Linked DNA regions of Homo sapiens: regions 1 and 2 are each linked to region 3. The links are contacts of gene promoters, found by promoter capture Hi-C in human tissues and cell types (Jung and others, 2019). All regions are on one chromosome and are shown on one strand. The core of a region is centred on a gene start or on the middle of the fragment in contact, and the rest is flanking DNA. Distances in the headings are between cores, read along the strand shown. Region 1 holds the start of PIF1 (PIF1 5'-to-3' DNA helicase). Region 2 holds the start of PLEKHO2 (pleckstrin homology domain containing O2). Region 3 holds the start of ZNF609 (zinc finger protein 609).

The links. Contacts are between HindIII fragments. The study calls those that stand out against the background at their distance.
Region 1: a contact is called between the fragment with the promoter of PIF1 here and the fragment with the promoter of ZNF609 in region 3, in 3 of the 25 tissues and cell types used here (IMR-90 fibroblasts, dorsolateral prefrontal cortex and spleen).
Region 2: the fragment with the promoter of PLEKHO2 here is called in contact with the fragment with the promoter of ZNF609 in region 3 in 2 of the 25 tissues and cell types used here (IMR-90 fibroblasts and adrenal gland).

The regions. Positions count from the first base shown.
Region 1 is chr15:64,824,397-64,827,350 of GRCh38, reverse strand. PIF1 (PIF1 5'-to-3' DNA helicase) reads left to right here and starts at 1,704. Exons shown (of 13, transcript NM_001286496.2): 1 at 1,704-1,782. RefSeq lists enhancers at 1,442-1,571, 2,761-2,954. The HindIII fragment of the contact is 20,575 bases long and covers 1-2,954 here.
Region 2 is chr15:64,840,519-64,843,218 of GRCh38, reverse strand. It overlaps PLEKHO2 (pleckstrin homology domain containing O2), which reads right to left and starts at 1,304. Exons shown (of 6, transcript NM_025201.5): 1 at 1,191-1,304. The coding sequence starts at 1,202. It also overlaps a transcript of LOC124903508 not described here. RefSeq lists enhancers at 97-648, 681-1,204 and silencers at 1,012-1,451, 1,462-1,781. The HindIII fragment of the contact is 9,878 bases long and covers 1-2,700 here.
Region 3 is chr15:64,459,186-64,461,885 of GRCh38, reverse strand. It overlaps ZNF609 (zinc finger protein 609), which reads right to left and starts at 1,308. Exons shown (of 10, transcript NM_015042.2): 1 at 1,048-1,308. It overlaps LOC105370861 (a long non-coding RNA gene), which reads left to right and starts at 1,299. Exons shown (of 3, transcript XR_932367.3): 1 at 1,299-1,387. RefSeq lists silencers at 977-1,076, 1,137-1,256 and an enhancer at 1,717-1,786. The HindIII fragment of the contact is 20,496 bases long and covers 1-2,700 here.

The sequences.
Region 1 (2,954 bases), core at 455-2,954, 370 kb before region 3:
GCAGCTGGGATTACAGATGTCCACGACGACACCCGGCAATTTTTGTATTTTTAGTAGAGACAGGGTTTCACCATGTTGGTCAGGGTGGTCTGGAACTGCTGACCTCAAGTGATCCCCCCACCTCGGCCTCCCAAAGTGCTGGGATTACAGGCGTGAGCCACCGCGCCTAGCCGTACTTTCGTTTTCAAAAAATTCCTGCTTTTGTTCTTTTGTTGCTTCATTCTTTCTTTGCTTTGATGGGCATTTTGTCCAATTCTTTGTTCAAAACGCCAAGAACCTGGACAACTTTCAGTCATCACCCTCTACCGCTAACAGACTGGGAGCAGTGTGGTGTAGTAGCTAAGCCCCATGGAGTGATTAAGCGAGCAGGTAATCTGGGTTCAATGTTTGGTTTTGCTCTCCATATCAGCTATGTGACCTTCAGTAAAATCTCTGGAAGCCTTGCTTTTTTCTCATTTGAAAAATAAGGTCCGGGCTCATGCCTGTAATCCTAGGACTTCGGGAGGCCACGGTGGGTGGATCGTTTGACCTCCGGAGTTCGAGACAAGCCTGGGAAACATGGTGACATCCCGTCTATACGAAAAAAAAATTATATATATATATGTGTGTGTATATATATATATGTGTGTGTATATATATATGTGTGTGTATATATATGTGTGTGTATATATGTGTGTGTGTGTGTATATATATATATATATATATATATATATATATATATATATAAATTAGCTGGGTGTGCATCTGTAGTTCCAGCTACCTGGGGGGCTGAGGCGGGAGGATCACCAGAGCCCAGGAGGCGGAGGTTGCAGTGAGCCACGATCGCGCCACGGCAGAGGTTGCAGTGAGCAGAGATTGTGCCACTGCACTCCACTACAGCCTGGGCGACAGAGTGAGCCCTAAGAAGGAAAAAGGAAAGGAAAGGGCAATTTAATCCATGGTAGTTATCATTATCTGTAAAATGAGGTAGCCAGACTCACCTGTAAGATCCTTTCCAGCTATGTAATTCCAAGCTTCAATGAGATAATAAAGATGATTAAAAGTAAATTCTTTCAGCATCCTGTGCAAGAAGAGGGATACAATTTCCCTGAAGACAGAGACTCTACTCGCTTCCGCTGTACCCTCTGGCACGTGGCACAGGTCTCAGAGTTTCTCACTCATGGGCCTCAGGTGGGTGAGAGAGCCAAAGCGTAAAGTCCCTTACAAAGGCAGAGAAGGATGTAGAGTTGGGGGCGGGGGAGGGATTGGGCAGGCCTTGGGGTGGTCTGCCCAGAACTGGACAATGGTACTGTGAGTGTAAACAGGGGTGTGAGAGTCCAAAGGCAGATCTTCCCCAAGGCTAAGCCCAGCCTCTGTGTGCGGGCTAGAGGGGAGAGGGAGTGTGCTGGAAGGATGGTTCTGAAAATAAATCTTCGGAGTCGCGTAGGGTTTTCAGACCCGACACCACGCGCCGCCGGGTGGCTGCCGCAGCGGCGGCCTCCTCCCACCACGCCCAGCCGTCCACTGGATTTGGTATGCTCAGCCACCACCATAAACCTCCTTCCTCTAGCAGGCAATTGGTACAGCCCAAGCTCCTGGAGTAGAGACGCAAAGAAAGACACGCCCATTGTTACGCCCCTACCTCTGAGTGGCTGGAGAATTTAAAGATCCAGTCGGTGATTGGGTGATTTTCTGCCTCTAGCATTTGAAAAATTTCTAGTTTCGGAGCTTAGCCACAGGCCGGCTACGATCTGCTTGTTCATCTGAGTGTCGGCACAAGTGAGTGTCTGCCCGAACCCAGAGGTGGGGAGCAAAGAGCCTGATTTATCTAGGGGTTTCCGGCGGGAGGGTGCAAACAAATGGGTCAGCCTGAGGGAGCACGGCTTCTAGGGTCCCAGGGTCCCCCGCGATTTCCCTAGCCGAATATTTTCCACCTCGTCCCCACCTTGGTGGTGGGAAGCGCGAGGGCATGGGAATCACACTGACTTTGACTACTAGCCGCTGTGGCTTATGAAGGGCAAGTGAGTTTCCCTCTCTTAGCCTGTTTCCACGTCTGTACACGGGGAAGAGTGAGACCTGCCCGCTGCATATAAGCCAGTGAATGTACCTACAAGGCAGAAGTCGCTTATTACACGGCAGCCCTCTTTGCATCTCCCCACGGGCGATTCTCCTGCTTCCTGGGGAGAGTACTCTGAGGATTCATGTGCTCGCCCTGGGTCTCGGGGAAGGAGGATTCTTTCTGCGCAGGGACCCCTGTTCTAGTGAGGTCCTTGCAGGACACCTGAGGCTCCCTAATCCTCGGTGCCCATCCGCCGCTCTGGAAATTGTTGTGTAGCACGGTGTGTGTGTATATGTGTGTGTGTGTGTGTGTGTATATATATAGAAATTGTATATATATTGTGTGTATATATATATAGAAATTGGATATATAGAAATGGAAATTGTGTAGCAGGGTGCGTGTGTGTATATATATATATACATATATATACACACACACACACACATATATATAATGTATGCATATGTATGTATTTATATGTATGTATTTTTTTTTTAATTAGAGGGTGTCGCTATGTTGCCCAGGATGGTCTCGAGTTCCTGGGCTCAAGCGATCTTCCTTCTTCAGCCTCCCAAAGTGCTGGAATTACAAGCGCCCGCCACCACGCCCGGCTAATTTTTGTATTTTTAGTAGAGACGAGGTTTCACCATGTTGGCCAGGCTGGTCTCAGAACTCCTAACTTCAGGTGATCCGCCCACTTTAGCCTCCCAAAGTGCTGGGATTAAAGCGCGAGCCACTGCGCCCGGCCCAGGGCATATTCTAAGGGTGGATTTTCGGTTAGCCCAAAGCCCTTTCTCCGTCTTTGTGACCTCTTTGTGTTACCAGTGACAGTCCTCGTGATCTTGTGTAGCCTTGACCCTGCTCCCTGTCACGTCCTTTATAGCACCCATTACGTCCCCTATAGCACCCATTACGT
Region 2 (2,700 bases), core at 55-2,554, 380 kb before region 3:
GGAAGTGACTTATCTACCATCCCACAGAAAGGCAGGGCCTGGCCTAGAGGGAGCCCTGACGGACCACTAGCTGCTCCTATCCATGGCCCTGGAAAAGTGGGAGGTGGGCACTGAAGGGACACAGGCAGTCCGGTCCACTCAGGGCTTCCCAGCTGGCCAGGGTTCCCCCAAGGCAGAGAACTTCATCTTTCCTCCCCATCCAAGGAGGCAAAGACATGCCCCTTCCCTTGGGCTGAGAGGGGCTGAAGCTGGGACCCCCTCAGGGGATAAGAAACAAATTCACCTTCCTCTAGACCCAACAGGCCCCTCATTTTAACTTAATCATTCCACAGGCATATATTAAGTGCTTGCTGCGTGCTGGACCCTCGGATAAAGCGGCTGCTGGCAGAACTGAGTTTGCAAGTAAAGGGCAGGGGCAGGGGCAAGACCCAATCCCAGGCCAAGAGTGTTTTGAGTGGTTAGAAGGAGGCTCCAGGGACACAGTTGGTCCAGCCCTCGGGTGGGGAAGGCAGGGACTAAGATCAGACCCTAGGTGGGCCGGACTCCCGATTCCTTCCCTACAGCTAGCTGCTCAGATGGATGTGGAGCGGGGAGAGAGTGGGGGAAAAGATACAGAGACTTATACAAGGGAGAAAAAAGCAACTTCTCCAATCCTCCTGCCACCAAAGCATGGTCACATCCTTGAGACAGGAACCCCCCAACACACACATACACACACACACAGAGTCAGGATCCGATCCTTGAGACAGGAACCCCCCAACACACACATACACACACACACACAGTCAGGATCCGACACACACACACACACACACACACACACACACAGAGAGAGAGAGAGAGTCAGGATCCGACCACGGTAATCGGGGTTCGAGCCCAGTCACCCAGGCCACTTTCAGCAAGTCATCAATCTCGCTGGAGTCTCAGTCTCCTGGTCAATCCAATGGGAACGGTAACAACCACGACGCCCCACAACTGGTGAGAAAGTCAGCGAGAATGAAGGAGGACGCGGTCTGCGAAGTCCCCGATATGGATCCAGCCCCTCGCCCCTGCCCCATTTGCCCAGGCTCTTCCTGAGGTGAGACTGGCGGGAGTGGGGCGGGCAGGAACGAGGGCCTGAGCCCAGGACCGCAATCCCCGTGAGGGGCTCGAGGACCCCAGCCCAACGCCCCGCCGGGCCCCGCCCTCACCTCCTCCTCCATGGCGAGTCCGCCGAGGTCCCGCCGCTCCGCCACTCGCTTCCAGCGCCGCGCGGGCTCTGCCACCGCGTCTACGCCCGGCCAGGCGGCGACTCTCCGCGTTCTGTCCCGCCGGCTGCCGGGGGCCCAAGAAACTTCGGGGGGGCGGGGCCGGGGGCGGGGTGAGGCTTCCGGGGGCCGGGGCGGGGCCGGGGAGGGGGCGGTGGGGCCGGGGGCCCGGCCCAGGGCGGGAAATGGGTGGGGAGGGGCGGGGCCTGGGTTGGAGACTGGACGGAGGAGCCGGGCGGAGATGCAACTGGAGGAAGAGGGCGGGACGGGGCGGAGAAGGTTTCCCGCATCGGCGGAGGGAGAGGGACTAGGAGGGGGCTGCGGCGGGGGAGGAGAGGGGGCTTCCGGCCCAGAGACTGAGGCGAGGGTGGCGGGAGCGGCGCGCAGGCAGGGCTGGGGTGGGGCGCACACAGTGAGCGCTGGGGGCGCTGGCGGTGGAGCCTTTGAGGTCTCCCGAACCAGTGGGCTGGGGTTGCGAGACCGAGCCGAGCTGCCCTGGGCGGCCAGAGATGTGGGCACACAGAGGCTCCTCCTCTTTCCTCCCCGACGCCGGGCAGTGGGCGGTGGCCTGGTCTTCTCCCTGGAACCTCTGGGCGGGGCCGGGCCTGGAGCTTGGGTCTCTGTCCGGAGGGTGGTGTCACAGGAAGAGCTGGAGCTGAGAGTCGGGACTCCGGGGTCCCTTTAGGGGGCGGCCCGCCCCTGGCTCTCAGGGGTCTCCAAGCGCAGTGTTCTCCTGCTCTCCTTGGGCATCGCTCAATCCCTCCCGTATCTGAGGGTCGACCATCCCCCCGATCCCGCGGTGAGCTTGCAGCCCTGACAGCCTTACTGGAGAGTGGGAGTGTGGGGACCAGCAGAGAGTAATGATTTTAGTTATACCATGCGCCCTCATTTTACATTGGAGAAACTGAGGCCCAGAGAGAGAAAGTAACTGGCTGCATCGCAGCCTGCAGCACCGCTCCCCTCTCACACACACACGCATACTCCCCCTTAGCTCTCCTGGTCAACCCCGTCCCATGCCAAGGAAGGGAAAATTAAGTGCATGTGAGATCAATGGTGACCTTCTTCGGCTCTGGCTGCCATAGCAGCGGCTGTGCCAGCGACCAAGCTCCCCTTTCACGGCCTTCTGCCAGCCCTCAGGCTCCCAGGCTACTTCCAGCCCTGTACGGAAAAGGGCAGCCTGGGGCTCCCAGGCCAAGGGGGAAGGAGATGCAGGTACACTTCTCCCTCATGCCTAGGCCTGGGATCCTTTAGCTAAAGGAATGAAGAAAATTGAGGCTGATATTATCACACTGGTCAAGAAAAAGAAAGAATAGAAAAGAAAGAGAGAGGAAGGAGAGAGAGAGGAAGGAGGGAGGGAAGGAAGGAAAAAAGGAAAGAAAGAAAAAGAAAAGAAAGAGAAATGAAGGAAGGAAAGAAAGAAAAGAAACAAGGAAGGAGAGAGGAAGGAAGGACG
Region 3 (2,700 bases), core at 59-2,558:
AGGGGTGAAATTAACTCAAGGCTGCAGAGCAAAGCCTAATACAGAAAAGGGAGGCCTGTAGGGGCTTGGGGACTCTCCTCAACCCCTTAGGCTCTGGACACATGGCTGGAAACAGACAGGCTTTCTTCCCTATCTTTCTCACTCTCATTTAGGTAGGGAGCTGTTTCTTAGAGAATTTAATCATCCGTGATTTGTTCAGAAATATTCCCCCTGAAGGGCTCTGATCTCTCCACCCTGTGTGAGCCTAATTCCTCGAAGCTGAAATGACTGTTTGCTGCTGCCTGTTTCACAAACACACATTAATTGGTCAGATGTGTCTCCTCCTCCTCAACCCCAGAGGGAGGAAGGAGAATCTGAGCAAAGCACAGAGATGATCCAACCGTAATTACACATAAAGGGAAAAGAGGGCAGCATGGGTTTTCCAAACAGGATAGGGTCACAAACCCTCCCGGGGGTACAAGGATAGCAGTTGAGGTCCAGGCCCAGGGATCCCTCCATCTTGAAGAAAAGGACAGGAGTAAATGTGACCTGAAGACTGTTAGGGGCACACACCCACAACCTACTTACTGCAGGATCCCAGCCACCTTGCTCCCCACTCCTAGGTCACGCACACGTCCTGCTTCCGACCCTATGCTCTGAACAACCACCACCGCCCCCGCCCCCCCTCCCCCGCCAACTCCCTGACTGGCCCCAGTCGCCCCGAGCGCCCTCAACATACCCAGACTCGCCTCAGAAACTCTCTGGCCTGCTCCCATAACCTAGCCAGACCCTAATCCCCTCCCGGGCACCCCTACCCTCAGCCTGAACCGGCCGTGGCCACGCTTTGAACTTCACCCCGCGCCCCTCGACGCCCCCTCCCCCACCCACGCAACGACCCCCCCTACACACCTTCCCCTCGCTCCGCCCCAGCCCCCCCAACCCCCACTTCCTCCGTCAGGCAGCGCCGCCGCCCCCGGCCCCCATCAGATCCCCTCAGCCCCGCGCCCCATCGGTGCCGCCGCCTCTTTCCTCCCCCAGTCCCGGCTCCACACAAAGCTCCGGACTCACCGCGCGGCCGGTCCCGGGAGCCGCCACCTCCGCCCGCCCGGGGCCCCGGGCCGTAGAGCCGCCGCTGCTACGGGGCCCAGGCCGCCATCCGTTCCCGCGGCCCCTCCCCCCCACCCCACCCCGGCTCCGGCTCCGGCTCCGGCTCTGGCTCTCTGCCCCCTCCCCGCGCCTCTCCGCCCCGCCCGGCCGGTGCCGCTGTGTCCGGGGCCGCGGGTCCCTCAGCCGCCGCCACCGCCGCCGCCGCCGCGATCCGGGACAACCAGAGTCACCCGGAAGACGCGGACACTGGACTGCCAGGCCCTCGGATCCGGATTCCGCGCTTGTGTGGAGTCTGGAGCCGGTGAGCGCAGGGGAAACCCGGAACCTGGATGAAGGAGCGAAATCCTGGGTCTCGGAATGCGCGCTCACCCGGAGCCCAGATTAGGGAGTCTTAGCTCAGGGAATGCTGGAAAACCCGGCGTGCCGGTTAGAACCAAGATAAACTCAAAGAAACCTGGATTAGAGAGCTCGAACCTAACGCTGTCCCCTCGTGGGCAGTAGAACTCTCGCTGGATCAGACTTCCTCATAGAGAGGTCTCTGGGGGGAGTATTGCACCTTATAACACAGAAGACACCTCTTCTGTAGTTGTCCTTCAACCACAGAGAGGAAAGGGCCGTAGGGGATCTGAACATGGGCATCCACAAAGAACAGAAGAGCAATCACAGCTCCTGATGGTTTCATCCATTTTACCCCTTAGTTCAGCAAAGTACCAACCTCCTAATTTTTTATCCTTTGTTCTCCAGCTTTCTCTTTTAGGATTACCACTTGCTTTTCTCCCCAAAGCACCCATTTCTAATCCCTCTATATATCCCTTTTCCCCTCACCATCCTCTATCACTAAATCTTGTTGCCTTTTATTATCTAAAAACCTTATTCTGTCCTTCTCCAACCCACCATTCTAAGGATTGTAGCTTTTATTTTTCCTTATCTGCTATTCATCTCTGATTGCCCAGCATACTATCTAGTGCACAGTAGGCATTCAGTCCATGTTTAAGTGAGCCCTCCCACCCAGCTTTCACTTGTGAAACATCTATTCATGACGACCTCCTAAGACTTCCATCTCATTCCATAGCAAACAAATTTACCTTAATTCTCAAGGCCTCCCACATCCTAGCCCCTATTATGTCCTTCCTGTGTCCTTGACCATTTTATTTTGCTTTGCATTTATCTTACCTTTTTTCCCTTATCCTGGGGCATCCTTCAACAGTGCCACTCAAGATAGCATGTGACTTGGAGATAAAGTGAGGTCATAAAAAGGTGGGGGGAGGGGTTGATAGCTAAAGATAAAAGTAAACCTTTCTGGTCTAGGAAAAATAATCTCTCTTTGGTCCACCAATAGTCATGTTGTTAGACAGTACAGGGGCAGAACTGATCCCAGGTGACAGCGAACTTCCAATGTATACTAGACAAAGTTACAAGTGAGGATTCAGCTACTTAGCAGGTGGAGACAGAGAAGGGTTTAGTGTTTTAGACTTAGGCATGATTTAATTAAGGATTAAACATTCCAGTAGTCATCTCCCACTGAAGGAGCATGACTCTGCCATTGGAGAGAACTAGACTGCAAAAATAGGGAACAAAGGAAGGTAAACATTCCTGCAGTGAACTCCAAGTTTC